Regions from separate parts of the Homo sapiens genome. Here region 2 is linked to region 1. The links are contacts of gene promoters, found by promoter capture Hi-C in human tissues and cell types (Jung and others, 2019). All regions are on one chromosome and are shown on one strand. Each heading gives the region's core, a stretch centred on a gene start or on the middle of the fragment in contact. The rest is flanking DNA. Distances are from core to core; before and after follow the strand shown.

Region 1 (4,418 bases), core at 19-2,518:
ACCAAGGTAAATGCCGGCGCCGCGGCTCAGAGGGAAGAGTAACTTACGATCTGCGCCTAGATTTTTCCTAGTAACCCTCCTAACCCATCCCCCTAACTGACAAAAACGACTCTTCCATCCGGGAGACTTTGGGATTTCCGGGCTACAGGACTCCACCCCCCACAACCTAGTCAGTCCCACCACCAACGTTCGGCCTGGGGCACTTCCCAAATGCCTAAGGACGCAGGGGGTTGCGCTAGTAAGTTGAAGGCCCAGGGCACCCCCTTTCTAGGGTTGACGACCCGTAAAGACTCCTCATTGGCCCCGCCCTCTACGCCCAGTATCCTATTTTTATTTTTTTTTTTAATTATTGGTTTCTTAAATAGAGCCAGGGTATCGCCATGTTGCCAGGCTCGTCTTGAACTCCTGGCCTCAAGCAATCCTCCCCACTCGACCTCTCAAAGTATCGAGATTACAGGCGTGAGCCACTGTGCCCGGCCGTCCCCATGCCCAGTCTCCTATTAAATCCCGCTGGAGGTGCCTGGCTCCCTGGGGCTGGGTGGAAAGGGTAGTGTAGGGGAAGTTGCCCTCCGTCCCAGCCCAGTTTAGGAGCCGGCGACCTCCTCTCTCCTTCGGCTGCTCCTCGGACGTTCTTGGCTCAGGGCAGCGAAAACTGTCGAAGACCTGCGGGCCAGGGACTGCTGAGCACCTCCATCCAAGGTCCCCAATGCTTTTCTCCATCTACCCTTTAGAGTGGGTGTCACGATTGCCACTGGAAAGGCTAAGTGACTTGCCCTAGGTCACATAATTTAAATGGCAGAACTGGAGTTTCTCACAGAACCTGTCCCGACTTAAAGCCCTTTGCTTAGGCCCCATTTAACTTCCTCAAACCTTAACTTAGGAGAGTGCAGGCGCTGGGGACCGCAGAGTCATTTTTGTTGCCCAGCGGTGCCGTCGCGTGCAGCTTTGGGCCCAGGTGCAGAACCCAACCGCGCATCCCCAGCGCGCACTTCGTCCACCCGGCTGCCAGAGCGGACACATCGGTCCGGCCTCGGTTTCCCCCTTCTGAACAAAAGCGCGCACAGTGTGCTCCCCGCACCAAGCCGGGACTGTGGCCCCCTTTCCCCGCTTCCCGGACCCTCCTCTGGGGACAGACGGACCGCGCGCGTCCTTGCCGCGGCGGCGGGTCGGGTGGGTGGGGTTTGCTGCACTGCTGCTGCGGCGGCGGCGGCGCCAGTGGGTCCTCCGGTGACTCTGGGGCGGGGCTGTGGGGAGGGCACGGACTGACAGACGGACTCCGGCGGAATGGGGGGTGTGGCTGCTCCGCCAGGGTCCCCAGGGTGGGAGAGCGGCTCCGCGGCCACCGATGCCCGGACCCCCTCTGTCTTCTGCTAGACATGCTCTTCCTCTCGGTGAGTTGTTTTGCTGTCGTCGCGGGCCGGATTCGTGGCCTTAGTCACGCCCCGGGGGAGGAGGAAGGAGCCGGGCCGCTTCGATCTGTGTGGCCTGGATAGGGCAGGGCAAAGGGGAACTGACCCGCTTCGCTCCCGGGCCTCCTCCTTTTGGGGCATGTTGATCCGCGGCTGCGCTCCATGTTCCAGTTTCATGCAGGCTCTTGGGAAAGCTGGTGCTGCTGCTGCCTGATTCCCGCCGACAGACCTTGGGACCGGGGCCAACACTGGCAGCTGGAGATGGCGGACACGAGATCCGTGCACGAGACTAGGTTTGAGGCGGCCGTGAAGGTGATCCAGAGTTTGCCGAAGAATGGTACGTGCGCTGGGCCCCGGCTGTAGACGCCTCCTGCAGAGAGCCCCAAAGCCCCCTTTCACTTTCTGGTTCTAGTGTTGTTTATTTAGCCTTTTTTTCTGTGTAGGAGCCATGTAGTGGAAGGGGAGCTATTGAATATGAATTAATTACCTTTTGATCTTCCAAACCGGAGAAAAATCTAATATCCAGATTTTAAGTACTTCATATTGTTGAAAACAAAAGTCTTGTCACTTAATGACTGCGGATTTGGGTGTGTTAAAAAATAAATCCGGGCCGGGCGCGGTGGCTCAAGCCTGTAATCCCAACACTTTGGGAGGCCGAGGTGGATGGATCACCTGAGGTCAGGAGTTCAAGACCAGCCTGACCAATATGGTGAAACCCCGTCTCTACTAAAAAATACGAAAATTAGCCAGGCTTCGTGGCGTGCGCCTGTAGTCCCAGCTACTCGGGAGGCTGAGACAGGGAAATTGCTTGAACCCGGGAGGCAGAGGTTGCAGTGACCCGATATCGTGCCACTGCACTCCAGCCTGGGCGACAGAGCCAGACTCCATCTCAAACAAACAAACAAACAAACAAACAAAAATCTAGGCTGGGGATGCCTAATGCCACACACTCATAGGGTCTACCAGCTTAAGCGTTTTGAAAACTTTTGATATGAAGGGACAGAAAAGAAAGAATAACTATAGTCAATTGTGAAGTAATTTCTATTTTAATAAATATATATTTTCTACCTTTTTATTTGCTATTCCATTGTATAATGTTCTTTTTTATACTCATATTGGACCTTCTTTGCAGCTGGTGAGAAAAAAGTCATTCCAGTGGCTGATCTCCTTCTTGTATTTAATGTGCTATTTCTCTGGCTGCTTTTTAGATTTCTTTTCTATCTTCGGTTTTCAGCAATTTGACTAGTAGATGTGGTTTTTCTTCATATTAACCCTGTTCACGATTTGCAGAGCTTTTTGAATTTGTAATTTTATGTCATAGACCAATGTGAAGTTTTTGGCCATTAAATATTTTTCTCTGTTCTAAATGCAGAGTCTTAGAAGCAAGACGTACTTTTCAATTCATATCTTTCTACATTATATGAATTATATTTCACAATAAACATATTTATTTCTTTAGAGATGGAGTTCCGCTCTTGTTGCCCAGGCTGAAGTGCAATGGTACAATCTCAGCTCACCTCAACCCCCACCTCCCAGGTTCAAGCGATTCTTCTGCCTCAGCTTACCCAGCAGCTGGGATTACACCCGTGCGTCACCATGCCCGGCTAATTTTGTATTTTTAGTAGAGACGGGGTTTCTCCATGTTGGTCAGGCTGGTATTGAACTCCCGACCTCAGGTGATCTGCCCTCCTGGGCCACCCAAAGTGCTGGGATTACAGGCATGAGCCACCGCGCCCGGCCCAATAAACATATTTAGAAAGTAATTATAGGTGCTACTACTGTGCCACAGTTGTAAAACTAACTGAATACAACAATAATATGTTACTATAGTATTTAATATCATGATTTCTGTTTTCATTAATTATCATTAATTATCAATAATTTCAATAATTATAGGTAACAAATATTCAACACATCATTCAATAAAAATTCATTAAATGCAGATTCAGAAATTTTTAAAAACAAATATACACAAAATAGTGTTCCATTTGTAATTTCTTTCCTTCTATGGTGTTGTCTGAACCTTTTGTAATTTCAAACATTCTATTGGAGGAGGGCATATGGGGGACTGAAAGATAAGAAAGAACAAATAAAATATAAAAAAAAGCATGAACTTATTTAGGTATTGATTTTTTAAGTCCCTAATTATTAGTGTTTATAGAAAGGTATGATTCTAAGAGTTTTATGTAAGTAGTATGTTTATACTTTCTTCTAAAGCACACGTTTTTATAGTTTTTTGAAAATTGGTAAAGCTAGACTGATGTCTCTAGGCCACTATGCCTGTTGACATTATGTACCACTTATTAGGAAACCTGTATAAAGTACAGTTTGTATGTACATAACATTTAAGAAAGTATTGCAAAGTTAACATACCCTATCGGCCGGGTGCGGTGGCTCACGCCTGTAATCCCAGCACTGTGGGAGGCCGAGGCAGGCTGATGCTGAGGCGGGCTGATCACGGGGCTGGCGGATCACAAGGTCAGGAGATTGAGACCATCCTGGCTAATACGGTGAAACCCCGTCTCTACTAAAAATACAAAAAATTAGCCAGGCGTGGTCGTGGGCGCCTGTAGTCCCACCTACTCGGGAGGCTGAGGCAGGAGAATGGCGTGAACCCGGGAGGCGGAGCTTGCAGTGAGCCTAGATCACACCCCAGCCTGGGTGACAGAGCCAGACTCCGTCTCCGAAAAAATAAAATAAAATTAAATTAAATTAAATTTAAAAAAAAAGATACCCTATCAGGCCAGGCGTGGTGGCTCACACCTGTAATCCCAGCACTTTGGGAGATCGAGGCAGGCCCTGAGATCAGGAATTCCAGACCAGCCTGGCCAACATGGTGAAACCCCACTTCTACTAAAAATACAAAAATTAGCTGAGTGTAGTGGCGAGTTCCTGTAATCCCAGCTACTCGGGAGGTTGAGGCAGGAAAATCGCTTGAACTCGGGAGGCGGAGGTTGCAGTCAGCTGAGATTGCGCCATTGTACTCCAGCCTGGGTGACAAGAGCCAGA
Region 2 (4,285 bases), core at 1,637-4,136, 140 kb before region 1:
TTTTTAAGAATCATTTATGGAAGAAACAGACATTTGGAATAAAGCAGGTTGAGCCTAATACACTCTTAGGAGATTGCATGATTTTTTTGTAGATGTTACTAGTAAAGGTGGCAGCCATTACTCACACACACACAAACATACGTGCATGCACGTACACATGCAAACACATACACCCCCTCACAACACAGATGATTGCAATGGCAAACTACATCCCTCAAATTTATTAATACTTTGAGGTTTTATTTTCCGTTTTTCTCTTTATACTGAATTATTTGTCTCATAATGGTCTTCTCTATAAATGCTTTATTTCTCTGAACTGGGCAACAAATGAAATCATACAAATATATACCGACGTAAACAAACACAAGGTTTTGCGCTCTCAGCTTCTGTCTTCTACCTACACTGATTACACCTCAAGAGCAGTCTTTTATAATGTTATTCAAATAACAGGCTACCAGATACTGTTCCCTCTGAAAGTGCACCTGTATCTTTCATCAACTTTAACGGAAATTATGTGCAAGCAAACTCCTACTGCTAGTTCAAGAGTCAAAGAGGGGACAAGGCATTATGAATTTTTCATATTGCTGACCAAGAAATATCATTCATTTCCTCCATTATCAATATTGTTTAAAATGAAAGTCACTGTATTTCTGAGGCAGAAATATGGGAACTTAAAAAAAAAACAATAGCTTATTTTTATTTCACAGCTTTTTTGGGGGCTGGTATTTAAAAGGAAACACTTTACTGAGGCCCACTGCCAACAATTTTTCAGTAATAAAATGAATAAAACTAGGACATTACAGAATTTCTTCACCTATGAGTAGTGAATAAGTATTATCTATGATTTTAATACCCTTTTCAGTAATATTTGCAGACTTTCCACCCAATTGATGGCTTATTTTATCCTCACACAAATATTTTCAACATGAGCCCTAGCCCAACTGTCCTTTCTTATTTTCTTGCTGAAACGTAATGAAATGCTAACTTTCAGGAATGTTGAGAAATACTGTTTTGTCTGTCCTCTAAGAAATAGCTTCGTTGTTTCCTTCCTATGAACTCTGCTCCCAATTAATTGACTTTTGTAAACATGTTTTGAGACCAGATACTGTTCAGCAGATTGTTTTTTACTAGGGTAAAGCTCTATTTATCACATGGTGTGTTTTTCTCGCTCTGTCCCCTTTGTCACTGGTTAGAAGGAAACAGTGAATTTTGAAAGTTACTAATCAACAGTGGCTATTTGCCTTAGTTTAGCCAAGTCATCCTCAACTGACCAAAGAAAGAAATCGTCAGATCACTGATGATTGGCAGCACAAAGGGGTGCGTATGTAAGATCCAAGATCAACACAGGATACGTTGTACTGCGTACTGCTTTACCACATTTCTTCTGGGTTTAACTAGGCTGGGAGCAGTTGGGCACATACTCTTACAAATGAAGCTTGGAGATGCCTGTATTTACATCTATGTGTTCAGAAGAGCAGAGCTGATAACTCTATCTGTGTCTTTAAAGAAGATCCGAGAGAGTCAACCTATGTAAGGATGGTCATATGGACTTTCCTCGCTTTTGGTCACCTCTCCTGGCTATCTCCAGCCACAGATCTGCACAGACCAATGCCACTTTATACAGAGACAGTGTCCACAGATAAAGGAAGAAATGACTGTATCTACTGCTACAGTGACCCCATTTTATTTCCTAAAGATCAGGGAACAACCCACATTTAGGATACTGCAACAAATCCTAAGGACAAAATGGCAAAATACATACATTGCTTATTCACGGTTAAGAGACACGGACTTTGACCTTTTGTTTTGTTTTTTGGCATGTGGTATTTATTCTGACAGGTAGGAGGCTCCTCTCCTAAAGCCAGAGTTTATTATTTTAAACTATAAATGTGACATATTAAGGGTTTTAAGAGTTGCATTATATTTTTTCCCTCCAATTTACTCTTCCATTACTCCTTTCCTCATCCTGTGGCCAGCTCCTCCAGAGGCTATGGCAGAGGGAGACGACACACAGTTGGAAATTCCTGCTGTTACCATAACATGGCTGTTGCTCACTCTGTGAAGGCAGGCTTTCTCTGTGAATCCCGTCTGTGGTTGTTTGGGTTTTTTTGTTTTTTTTTTTTTAACATTCCCCAATGCAGATACTCTCCAAGTGACTTCTCCCATCAGCTTTATTGAGATATAATCGGCTTTTTAAAAACTGCACATAGGTACATATACACCATGGAATACTATGCAGCCATAAAAAAGAATGAAATAATTTCCTTTGCAGCAACATGGATGGAGTCGGAGGCTATAATCCTAAGCGAATTAACACAGGAACAGAAAACCAAATGCCACATGTTCTCACATATAAGTGGGGGCTAAGCATTGAGCACACACAGACATAAACACAGTAACAATAGACACTGGACTACTAGAGGGTGGAGGGAGGTGGGCAGGTGGGTGGAAAAACTACCTATCAGGTACTGTGCTCACTACCTGGGTGACAGGATCCATACCCTAAACCTCAGCAACACACAATATTCCTATGTAACAAACCTGCACACATACCCCTTGTATCAAAAATAAAAATGGAAAATTAACAAGCAAAGAACAACCCCACTACAATGTAGGAAAGGACATGAACAGACACTTTTCAAGAGAAGACATATATGTGGCCAAAAAGCACATAAAAAATGTTCAAGATCACTAATCATTAGACAAATGCAAATCAAAACCACAAAGAGATACCATCTCACACCAGTCAGAATGGTTATTATTAAAAAGTCAAAAAATAACAGATGCTGGCAAGGCTGCAGAGAAAAGCTAATGCTGACAGGAGTGTAAATTAGTTCAACCACTGCAGAAAGTAGTTTGGTGATGTCTCAAAGAATTTAGAACTACCATTTGACCCAGGAATCCCATTATTGGGTATAACCAAAGGAATATAGATTGTTCTACCATAAAGACTCAGGCACACATATGTTCATCACAGCACTATTCACAATAGCAAAGACATGGAATCAACCTAAATGCTCATCAACAGTAGATTGGATAAAGAAAATGTGGTACATACACACCATGGAATACTATGCAGCCATAAAAAAGAACAAGGTCATGTCCTTTGCAGCAATGTGATGGAGCCAGAGGCCATTATCCTAAGGGAACTAATTCAGGAACAGAAAACCAAACACCTCATCTTCTCACTTGTGAGTCACATCTAAACACCGAGTACACATGGACACAAAGAAAGGAATAGTAGACACCGGGGCCTACTTGAGGGTGGAGGTGGGAGGAGGGTGAAAATTGAAAAGCTACTTACTGAGTTTCATTCATGCTGTGTTTATTACCTGGGTGATGAAATACTCTGTACACCAAACCCCCAGAACATGCAGTTTATCTGTAGAACAAACCTGCATGTGTCCCCCTGAAACAAAAATAAAAGTTAAAAATAAATAAAAGTTGAGGCTGGGCACAGTGGCTCACACCTGTAATCCCAGCAATTGGGAGGCCAAGGTGGGCAGATCATTTGAGGTCAGGAGTTTGAAACCAGCCTGGCCAAAATGATGAAACCCTGTCTCTACTAAAAATACAAAAATTAGCTGGGCATGGTGGTGGGTGCCTGTAATCCCAGCTACTCGGGAGGCTGAGGCAGGAGAATTGCTTGAGCCCGGGAGGCGGAGGTTGCAGTGAGCAGAGATTGCACCATTGCACTCTAGCCTGGGTGACAGAGCAGACTCCATCTCAATAAATAAATAAATAAAAGTTGGAATTAAATAAATTAAAAACTTCACATAATTAATGTATATAATATGGCGAGCTTGGACATATGTATACACTCATGTGATCATCACCACAATCGAAGTAACAAGTATATCCATCATCTCCAAAAGTTTCTTTGTGTCCCTTTGTTGCTTCAGTATTGCTGTTTTCATGGTAAGAACACCTAACATGAGAGAGTATGCCGCCATTGCCACCACCACCACCATTGCCATGAACAATGTCGTACAGACTCACACACACATGGAGCTTCAATCGTATGATCAATGCTTCAGTTGTTGGTTTGTGGAGAAGCTTCTCAAGGGCGACAGCTCTGGGGAGCCGTGCTCCAACCTCTTCAAGCATTACCTGCAGTGTGTTCAGAAAGCAACAACAGAGAGAATCTCTGTTGAAGGACTGAGTTCACGGGCCATGGTGAAGAAAAGTATGAAGAGTCTTCTTGACCTTGATGGTCACCTTGAAAATGGATTCTTCAAATCAAGAAATTGAGAACTCTGGATTTTGTCAACTAAGTCTGTGAAGA

What was found. Contacts are between HindIII fragments. The study calls those that stand out against the background at their distance.
Region 2: a fragment that was not itself captured here is called in contact with the fragment with the promoter of ACBD5 in region 1 in 1 of the 25 tissues and cell types used here (H1 embryonic stem cells).

What each region holds. Positions count from the first base shown.
Region 1 is chr10:27,237,647-27,242,064 of GRCh38, reverse strand. It overlaps ACBD5 (acyl-CoA binding domain containing 5), which reads left to right and starts at 1,268. Exons shown (of 13, transcript NM_145698.5): 1 at 1,268-1,391; 2 at 1,581-1,746. The coding sequence starts at 1,377. RefSeq lists enhancers at 1-46, 1,497-1,756, 1,714-2,216 and a silencer at 1,267-1,376. The HindIII fragment of the contact is 11,813 bases long and covers 1-4,418 here.
Region 2 is chr10:27,378,053-27,382,337 of GRCh38, reverse strand. It overlaps the pseudogene TRIAP1P1. Among named protein-coding and RNA genes, the nearest start is that of PTCHD3, 34 kb to the left of the region's middle. The HindIII fragment of the contact is 4,381 bases long and covers 696-4,285 here.